Linked DNA regions of Homo sapiens: region 1 is linked to region 2. Evidence: promoter capture Hi-C in human tissues and cell types (Jung and others, 2019). All regions are on one chromosome and are shown on one strand. Each heading gives the region's core, a stretch centred on a gene start or on the middle of the fragment in contact. The rest is flanking DNA. Distances are from core to core; before and after follow the strand shown. Region 1 has its middle 45 kb from the start of SLN. Region 2 holds the start of ELMOD1 (ELMO domain containing 1).

The links. The method cuts DNA at HindIII sites, captures the fragments that hold promoters and counts their contacts. A contact is called where the count stands out against the background at its distance.
Region 1: a contact is called between a fragment that was not itself captured here and the fragment with the promoter of ELMOD1 in region 2, in 1 of the 25 tissues and cell types used here (aorta).

The regions. Positions count from the first base shown.
Region 1 is chr11:107,754,757-107,759,510 of GRCh38, reverse strand. No RefSeq gene overlaps it. Among named protein-coding and RNA genes, the nearest start is that of SLN, 45 kb to the right of the region's middle. The HindIII fragment of the contact is 6,096 bases long and covers 1-4,328 here.
Region 2 is chr11:107,587,607-107,592,928 of GRCh38, reverse strand. ELMOD1 (ELMO domain containing 1) reads right to left here and starts at 1,782. Exons shown (of 12, transcript NM_018712.4): 1 at 1,520-1,782. RefSeq lists an enhancer at 1,280-1,339 and silencers at 1,590-1,729, 1,790-1,899. The HindIII fragment of the contact is 8,803 bases long and covers 1-3,750 here.

The DNA.
Region 1 (4,754 bases), core at 31-2,530, 170 kb before region 2:
TCCCTTGATGTAGTCCTCTTTTCATATGGATGTGGCTTCCTATGAGCTGAGCTGCAGTGATTGTTATCTCTCTTCTGGGTCTAGCCACCAAATCTGCCAGGCTCTGGGCTGGTATTGAGGGTTGTCTGCACAGAGTCCTGTGATATGAACTGTCTATGGCTCTCTCAGCCGTGGATACTAGCACCTGTTCCAGTGGAGGTGGCAGGGGGTTGAAATGGACTCTGTGAGGGTTCTTAGCTTTGGTGGCTTAATGGTCTATTTTTGTGCCAGTTGGCCTCCTGCCAACCACTTGGAGGAGGTTGGCACTTTCCAGAGAGCATCAGCTGTGGTGGTATAGAGAGGAACTGGTGGTGGGTGGGGCCCTAGAACTCCCAAGAGTATATGCCCTTTGTCTTCAGCTAGCAGGGTTGGTCGGGAAGGTCCATCAGGTAGGGGCAGGGCTAGGTGTGTCTGAGCTCACACTCTCCTTGGGTGGGTCTTGCTGCGGCTGCTGTGGGGAATGGGGGTGAGGTTCCTAGGTCAATGGAGTTATGTACCTAGGAGGATTATGGCTGCCTCTGCTGAGTCACGCATGTTATCAGGAAAGTGGGGGAAAGCCGGCAGTCACAGGCCTCACCCAGCTCCCACGCAATCCAAAGGGTCGATCTCACTCCCACTGTGCCCCTCCAACAGCCCTGAGTCTGTTTCCAGGCAGAGGGAGAGCAGGGCTTGAGAACCTGCTTCAGGCTACCTGTCTCCCAGCTGCAAAAATAAAGGGCTTTGGTTCTTCCCCCATCTACAGAGTCTGCACACCAGATTTGCACCCTCCCCCGAGTTCTGGCCAGGAGGCTTCTCACCAGGTTCAAATTGTTACAAAGTTCACCTGGAGACTTCCTTCTCCCTGTGGTGTTTACCCCTGCACCTCTGTCCACCCTCCCAAAGAATCCTTGTGGTGCTAGGCAGGAATGGCCTGCTTGGGGACCCAGCGAGCTCCCAGGACCTTTCTCGCTGCTTCCTCTACCCCTGTATTTCACTTGGCTCTCTAAATTGACTCAGCTCCAGGTATGGTCAGAAAATTCTCCCGCAAACTAGACCTTCAGTTTCCCCAGTGGGGGTGTGTGTTCAGGAGTGGAGGATCTCCCTTTCCCACTTCTGCAGTTTGGGCACAGTGTTTGGGGTGTCTCCTGGGTCTTGCAGGAGCAGTCCACTTCCTTCAGAGGGTCTGTGGGTCCTCTCGGGACTCCTGGTTTGTTATTGAAGTTGTTCTGGAGCTTAAGTTCACGATGTGAGCCTCCACACAATGCTCTGTCCATCTGAGTCAGAGCTGCAATCTACTCCTGCCTCCCATCTGCCATGATGATCATAGTCAGAAGGTGCTACACATTTTTAAATGACCACATCTCACAGGAACTTAGTCACTATGGGGAGGACAGTCCCAAGAGCATGGTACTAAACCATTTGTGAGAAATATTCCCCCATGGTCCAACCATCTCCTACCAGGCCTCACCTCCAACACAAGAAATTACAATTCAACATGTGATATGGGTAGGGACACAGATCCAAACCATTCCATACATGCTTCTTATCTCACCCTTGGGAACTCGCCTGCTGCCATGTGAACAAAGCCTGGGCTACCCTCCTGGCTAATGAGAGACACTGGCACTGTTACCTCCTCAGCTCTAGATGGCAGTAGACAATTCCCAGAACTCTTCAGCTGAGTGCAGCCCAAATTGCCAACCTACAAAAACATAAATAAATTGTGCTGTTTTAAGCTACTAAGCTTTGGGATAGTTTGTTAAGCAGCAGAAGCTAATTGATACTTGACTACACACTATGCTGCCTCTAGATTATACTTACTTTGTACAACAAATTTCATAGATGATTTTGCATGTTGTCTCATTTAATTTTCACAATTACTACACGAGATGGGATCTAAAAAAATAGAGATTGTGGGAATTTAATTAACTTGTCCAACATCAATTGCTAATGAGTGGAAGAAGCAGAGTTAAAATGTATAAAATAGGCTGGGCATGGTAGCTCATGCTTGTAATCCCAGCACTCTGGAAGGCTGAGGCAGGTGGATCACTTGAGGTCAGGAGTTTGTTTGAGACCAGCCTGGCCAACATGGTGAAACCCCATCTCTACTGAATATAGAAAAATTAGCCAGGCATGGCGGCACATGCCTGTAGTCCCAGCTACTTGGGAGGTTGAAGCACAAGAATCGCTTGAACCCAGGAGGTGGAGGTTTCAGTGAGTTGAGATTGCGCCACTGCACTCCAGCCTGGACAACAGAGCGAGACTCCGTCTCAGAAACAAAAAAAAAGGGCTAAAATTTATAAAATTTCCTAAAAATCGTAGGTCAAATGAGACTTCAATCAGTGCTGCTAAGGAACAGCGGCTACTTCTGATTCCGATTCCAGATATGATGGTGAATGAGCAGAGCTGCTGGCTGTCTCTTCTAACTGAACTGTAGAGATGCCACGGAAATGAGAGAAAAGCTCTGGCATTTGAAGTACTAACGCAAAATTCGTGAGAAACCTTTGAGGAGATGCAAAGTGATTATGACCTGGTATGAAAAGGAAAACTCAGTTTGGGCAGAAGGCCAGGCTCCAGTGGGATGGAGGGGCAAGGGGACTTTGAGATATGTGTTTTTTTTTGTATATTGTCCTGGGTAGATCATTGATATCTCTATTGTAAGTAGAAAATAAATGTAGTAGTTCCAGTCCAAAGCCTCAAGTCAGTGGGACAAAAGCAGCGTGGTTGGCTGGAGTGAGGAACAGTTAACAATGGGGCAGTCAGATAATTGAGTCTTTGTGTGTTCCCTGCTCTCTCCCATCTCCCCACACTTCTAGGATTGGAGAGTTGAAATGGGGTGAGAAAGGATCTTTCAGTGGGTATCTTTGAGGGTAAAGGTTTATGTAGCTTCTGCAATAATCTGGTATGAAGGTCAGAATTACCTGGTGAAGTTGTAAAATATGAAATGACACTCATCCTCCCCAACTCCCCAGAAATGGCACAAGCAAGAGTCTGGGCCTTAGCTCCTCATTCTGGGTACACATTACCAGGGGAAAATGAACTCAGAGGCAACAAAATATTGAAATAGTGGAGGAGTCCAATCTGTTTGACGGAAAAACCACCACCCAAATGACCTACCTGGAGGAACCAGAATTGGTGTAAGACATGAACCATGATTTAAAAATAAGCTTAATAAATATCCTCAAAGAAACAGGAGATTATATTGGTTAATATGAAGCAAGGACAAAAAAACAACTAAGACGATCCAAGTAGATATCTCAGGTATAAAAAGTATAATACTTGAAATATGGATTCAACCGATATGGCACTGAGAAGAGTGAATATAGACAATAATTACTGAGCTAGAATATCAGGTCAAGAAACTGCCTTAGGTGCCTAAAGAATTAAGGCCCTAGCCTGAACTTGCAACAAGTACTGGAGTTTGGAGGAACAAATTCTGTCTCTCCTCTCTTGTATTTGTTTTTTGTTTTTGTTTTTTGTTTTTTTCAGATGGAGTCTCACTCTGTTGCCCAGGCTGGAGTGCAGTGGCACAATCTCAGCTCACTGCAACCTCAGTCTCCCAGGTTCAAGCAATCCTCCCACTTCAGCCTCCCAAGTAGCTAGGATTACAGGTGTGCACCACCACGCCAGGCTAATTTTGTTTTGGTATTTTTAGTAGAAACGGGGTTTCACCATGTTGACCAGGCTGGTCTTGAACTCCTGACCTCAAATGATCCACCCCCCTTGGTCTCCCAAAGTGCTGGGTTTACAAGCATGAGCCACTGCACTCGTCCTCATTTGTATTTCTTTTCTCTCTTAGATATAAAGTACCATATATGCACAGTTCTGCACCTTGCTTTTTCATTAAACAAAAATGTCCAGAGATTATTCCATAGTAAAATAAAAGATCTTCCTCATTTTATATTTTGTATGTGTGTGTTTTTGTTTTCTTCTTCCTCATTTTCTTTTATAGTTGTACATTACTTCATTGTGTGGATGCATTATAGTTTACCCAAATATCCCTCAGCAATGATATTTGCATTTTTTTTTTTTTTTTTTTTGAGATGCTGTCTCCTCTGTTGCCCAGGCTGGAGTGCAGTGGCGCGACCTCAGCTCACTGCAACCTCTGCCTCCCGGTTTCAAGCAATTCTCCTGCCTCAGCCTCCTGAGTAGCTGGGACTACAGGTGCGTGCCACCATGACCAGCTATTTTTTTTTATTTTTAGTAGAGGCGGGGTTTCACCATGTTGGCCAGGCTGGTCTCGAACTCCTAACCTCGTGATCTGCCTGCCTTGCCTCCCAAAGTGCCAGGATTATAGGCGTGAGCCAGTAAGCCACTGTGCCTGACTGATATTTGAATTCTTTTCAGTCTTACTGCAATGGATATCCCTGGTTTTTTTTGTTTTTGAGACAGGGTCTGGCTCTGTCATCCAGGCTGGAGGGCAGTGGTGCGATATTGGCTCAGTGCAACCTCCACCTCTGGGGCTCAAGCCATCCTCCCACCTCAGCCTCCCCAGCAGCTGGAACTACAGGGGCACACCATCACACTTGGCTAATTTTTGTATTTTTTTATAGAGGTGGGGTTTTGCCATGTTGGCCAGGCTCGTCTCAAATTCCTGAGCTCAAGCTATTTGCCCACCTCGGCCTCCCAGAGTGCTGGTATTCCAGGCATGAGCCATTGTGCCAAGCCCACTACTACTTTTTAACATAGTGAAGAAGGTCCTAGCCAGTGTTAAACAAGAAAAGGGTCTAAGAGATACT
Region 2 (5,322 bases), core at 533-3,032:
ATCTCACCAAAGCTGGGAGAAAAGCAGGCTTTTTCTGCAAAAGAGAACCATTTCGAGTACTGATTGCTGTGTGTGCTGGTTTACTGGTAAATGGTGGTGATGCAATGGAAGTTATAACCCAAAGTGTAGGAAGACGCCCTACAACCTGTTCCAGTCCTCAACGTTCCCTACGTTAATGGGTTCTTCTTTCAGTGTTCTTGACAGTGATGTCTTACAGAGAAGACATTTATTTCTTCTTCCTATGAAAAAGATTAAGATGAGAGAAATACCTCCCAATGTAGATACAAGAGTGTGCCTTTGGCAAAATACCAACTAAACTGACCCCCGAGAAAACTTCTGGGGGAGGGAATGACTAAGTCTGCTGTAACTACGTGTTGTCATAATAGGTTAATGAATTAAGACATTTATCCCAATACAAGCATACTACCTGCTTTCCACCATATTGGCAGCACCAGTTAAGGACGGTTGTCAAGCCACCGGCACAAAACGTATACATTGCAGAGATGCAGAACAATGCCTGGATGCCTGCCCAAAATTGGTCTCTCCAAATGACAGACTCAATTGATAGTACCAATCTACGGCCCACTGGGGGTTAGCAGCGTATTTTCCTAGGTGGTGGGGGAAAGGGATGAAATGTGGAAAGCTCAGGGCACTGTGCAGAGCAGAAAGGCTGACAACATATTCATTAAACTTGATCTGAAGCAAGTGAGCCCGTGAGGTCGTTCCTGAAATATTCATAAGATGTGTTACCGAACTCGCCGCTTAGAGGTTGAGCATAAACACTGAGTCAGAACAGCCCGTACCCACACTTGGAAAACAAAAAAAAGCACCCACAACAGCTCACCCCACCACCACACTCCACTGCTCTGCTTTTAACAGCCCCGTCAGCTGTCAGCTGTCACTCCCCACTCGGCTGTCCAATTCTACCTGCCCGGGAAAGAGATGCTCCAATATTGAAGTGCGGAGTTTCCCAGCAGTTGGAGGAGGCGCAGCTCAACAGCCCAGCCGACCGCTCCTCCCAGCTCGCTGCGCGGAGGACCCCACAGTCCGGCGGCCCCGCAGCCCGGCTGCCTAGCTCCTCCCTGGAGACCGAAGCCCACAAGGCAAGGGGTTCCCAGGGACCCAGACCAGCCCCTCGCCCCAGCCAGGCCGCCCTTGTCCCGCCTTCCATTTTGGCTCTGTCTGGGATCCCTTCCCCGAGCCCTCGGCGTTAGGTCGCTAGGCGACCTACGCCCGGGCCGAGATGCAAACAGCCTCTCGCGCCGACCTGCAGCCTCTCGGGTGTTAATTGGGAGGACAGGATAGAAGGGGAAATCACTGTCCTGGGTGACCCCGGAGCCCCTGCACCAAGGCAGAGTGCACTTTCATTCCCGTTCCCTCTCTGCCCCCGATGCTTAGCATTTCTGCTGCCTCCCAGGCACAGCGCAGCTTGCGTGATGCCTCGCGTCCTCGCCGCACCTCTCTCCTCCCCAAGGGCATTCGCCCCTACTCCCTAGGCTCCTCTGGGGTCGCCAATCACCTGGACTCTGGCGGCGGTAGGCTCAGCAGCTCCCGGCGCGCGGCGGCGTGGTCTTCATCTCCGCCTTCCCCAGGCGCTCCGGCTACGCGCTCCGCGGCGGCGAGCGACGCGCTCGGTCCCGGGCGCCGAGGCTGGACAGGGGCGGCCGCGGCTGCCGCACTGGCTGCGGGCGCGGAAGGGGCGGGGGCGGGGCAGGAATCTGGGTCGCGTGGAGCGGAGCAAGCCGGGATGCACCCGGGGCGGCTGGCGGCGAGGAGGCGACCGAGAGCAGCGGGGGAGGGCGTGCAGAGGCTTCCCTGGGAGCACGAAGCGGGCGGCTACTGAGCATGCCCAGTCCGGGAGCCGGGGGCGCGGGCGCGGTGCTGGGGGAGAGAGCGCGGCACCCAGTGCCGGAATCTGGGGGGAAAGGGTTAAATCTGCGGACCCCGCTGCTGTGGGAGGTGGCTGGTGTGGCCCAGTTTAATTGCTCCCGGGTGGCCTCCCTGGAGGAGCCCACGACAGGAAGATGGTGAACCTGAGATGACCTGTCAATGGGATTCCCAGACAGTCCGGGCAAGGTGTGTTCCCCGCCCTCTCCCTGGATAATTGTCCAGAAGTCAAACTTTGTTTTAGTTCAGCTCCAACCTCCCTCGTCTCACCGAGCACCCAGTGACTCTTCCAATCCTGATCCCCACCCTTCACCTGCCTTCCCGGGACTGCAGAACCCTATCCCTCACCCCAACCGGCAGCCCCCGCCTTTCCCACTCCTGGCCCAGTCGGGTCAGATTCTCAAAGAGCCAGCTCTTTAATTAGGTGTAATTGAGAGATCGTGTCAATCCTGCGAGGTCCATATCTGCATTTCAACAAGGGCTTTAGAAGCAATACCGTAACCCCGGGGTTAATTATAACAGGATGAATTATAGACACCCTCGTCCGGGGCTGTTTGGGGGAACATTGCTTCGTGGGGCCCCAGAAGCCACTTCATACAGACAGAGAGAGAGAGAGAGAGAGAGAGAGAGAGAGAGAGAGAGAGAGAGAGAGAGAGAGAGAGAGAGAGAGAGAGAGAGAGAGAGAGAGAGAGAGAGAGAGAGAGAGAGAAACCTGTGCCTTCCGGATTGCATTTCATGTTTGATGAAGAACGTTTTCTCCATAGCTAATCAAAAAAGTCTCTTTAATGAGGCCGCATGGGGTTGGGGAAAGACCAAATGAGCTTCGAGGTCGGCGCTTATTTTAGTTTCATTCATCACTCCAAGCCGGTTACCTGACCGTCTTGTGCCTCTGTTTCCTCACCTGTAAAACAAAGGGTGGTTAATACCTACCTCTGCGGGCTGTTGTGAGGATTACTTGGGCAGCTGGCGGCGCGGAGCAGCCTGGATACCAAAGCATCTGCCTGTCCCGCAGTGGATGTTCCCTGAATAAAAGTCTCTGCAGGTTCCACCTCCACTATTCTGTGTTTATGAAAAGTTGGGTTAGTGATAATCCTTAAATGCTGAACATTTATCTTATTTCCTCTTCACATTAAATGACCTTAAAGCCTTGACCTTTCTGATTTTTTTAATCATTGTTAAAAGCATTAGCCACTATTTACTTTTCTTTCTTTTCAGGGAGATATGAAGGATACCTCCCTGAATAAACGTCTTGGAAAAAGATAGACCTTTGGAGGGAAAAGCTTCTCGGGAGAGATTCATTAGGGATAGATTAATCCACCTGACAAAAGAATTTTACTCCATAGTCTTTTAAACGTAATTTGCTTGCATCTCCCTGTGGTCCTTGTTTCACAACTATTGCATGAAGTAATGTATGCCTGTATGGAAGGAAATTTACTTCCCATGCATACTGTTGACTATTTAAGTATCAGAATTCAAAAGATAAACTTTTTATTATCCCCCAAACATACTATTTTTTTAATAACACATTGCTTTATTCATGGTGTTCCACCCTTTCTGAAATACCATTCTCAAAAAAAAAAAAAAAAAAAAAGAAATACCATTCTCTCTCATTCTATTTCATGAAGTGCTACTCACTCTTCAAGCTCAAATGTCACCTTCTCTCTGAAGCCTACCCTGAACCTCAAGACAGAGTGAATGCTGTGCTCTCATAGCACCAGTGCATACTGCTATCACAGTACTCATCACAGCCTATCACTGTGGTTCAAGCAATGTAAAACTACTTACTGAGCAACTGTTATTTGCAGGCGCCATTCTACATGTTAGGAAAATAAGAACAAACAAGACAAAGTTCCTGCCCTCATGGAACTTACAGTCTAGTTGAAAAAGACAGAAAATAAACACCTAAACTGTAAATAATCACTAAGGACAGAAGTCTAGTAATTCTGTTAATTTTTGTCTTTGTGTTATCCATCAAATTACGCTATAGAGTCTTGACTCATCCTTCCAAAAAACATCAATAAAAATATTAATATTGGCTCTAGGCCAAACAAATGACATGGACATGGATCTCTGCCAGTTTGTTGCTGAACCAGTGACTTTTACTCCTTTCAGTTGATTCCCTCAGCTAAAACTTTCCTAAACTCAAACCACTCAAGGTAGGTAGCTGCAATCCCATGTGATGAATGGAAAATGGTAGGGGAGGGCTAGAGAGTTTAATCTCCACAACAAATTATATCCTTTATCTAACCTTTAGGAATGGCATTTCTAAAATGTCCAGAATCAACCTGGATCCCCAGATCTCCTGCATCCCAAAAGTCTCTTCCAGGGTCTTGCACACCACTCCCACCCTCTCACCTTTTCACCATCTTTGGCCTCTATTTATGTCAATAGTTATTCTCTGTCATACATCTTCTGTTTGAATCTACCTACTGTCTGAATGACAAGCTTTTCTCTCTGATTCTCTTATTGTCTAAGTGTGAGGCAGCCTTGGTATCACTTAGAACTGACTTCTTCAAAGCATATTTGTACACATGTATGCCATAGCAATTAGAGACAATCTCGCCACTGTTTAATGTGAGTAATTCAAGGGGAGGGTCTCATTCATCTTTGTATTACAGAACTTAGCAGATGACCAATATGTAATAGATACTCAAGGAAAAGTGTGAAAGGAATGAATGAATGTAAGCAGGTTCTCAACTCTATGTGGCTCCTTAGACTATAGTTCTTTTCTAATTGGTTTTCTTGCTAACCCTAGAATTGCTTCACCAGGATCTGGCTCAGTTTTTCTTTTCATAATTTCTCTTCCACCACAAATCCACAGATTTCTCCACCTCTGGGTCCTGCATTATTTTGGGATAAAAATACCTATTGAACAGATTAACATGCAGTCAACAGAGAGGGTATTTGAAGAAACTGAGATCATGTGATGTAGCATTTACAGGTAATGAGTGAAGAATCCAGAGAGGAGAATGTTGTGCCTCTACAGCCTCCCCAGAGTTACAGCCGGAGAGCTGAAGAGGAAGGGGAAGAGCTAGGAGATGCTTTGTCATCAGCTTAGACTCCATACTGGCCCATTACAAGTGACACAGAATTTGAGTCTTTTCCAGACAGGTGGATATATTTCCTTGCTCAGAAGATCTGTTACTGAACATTATCATTTAGAATTTATTTGACTATAAATGTCCTCACCTAGAAATGTCTTCCTTTAGCAAAGGGTAGATTGAGCAATGGACAAGCAAGTTGGAATTTCCTGCCTGGATCATTTTGTGGGTGGGGTGGAAGTCATGGCCCATTTATGTATTTGTAATCTAGCACTGGTCTTAAGCACTGTGGGAGGAAAGTATTCTTCGATGTATTGGCTTCATAATAAAACTAGAAAGGGAATCTTTGGACTTAAAAAGCATGAAGTCTTGTCTAATTTTGCCTAATTGTTGT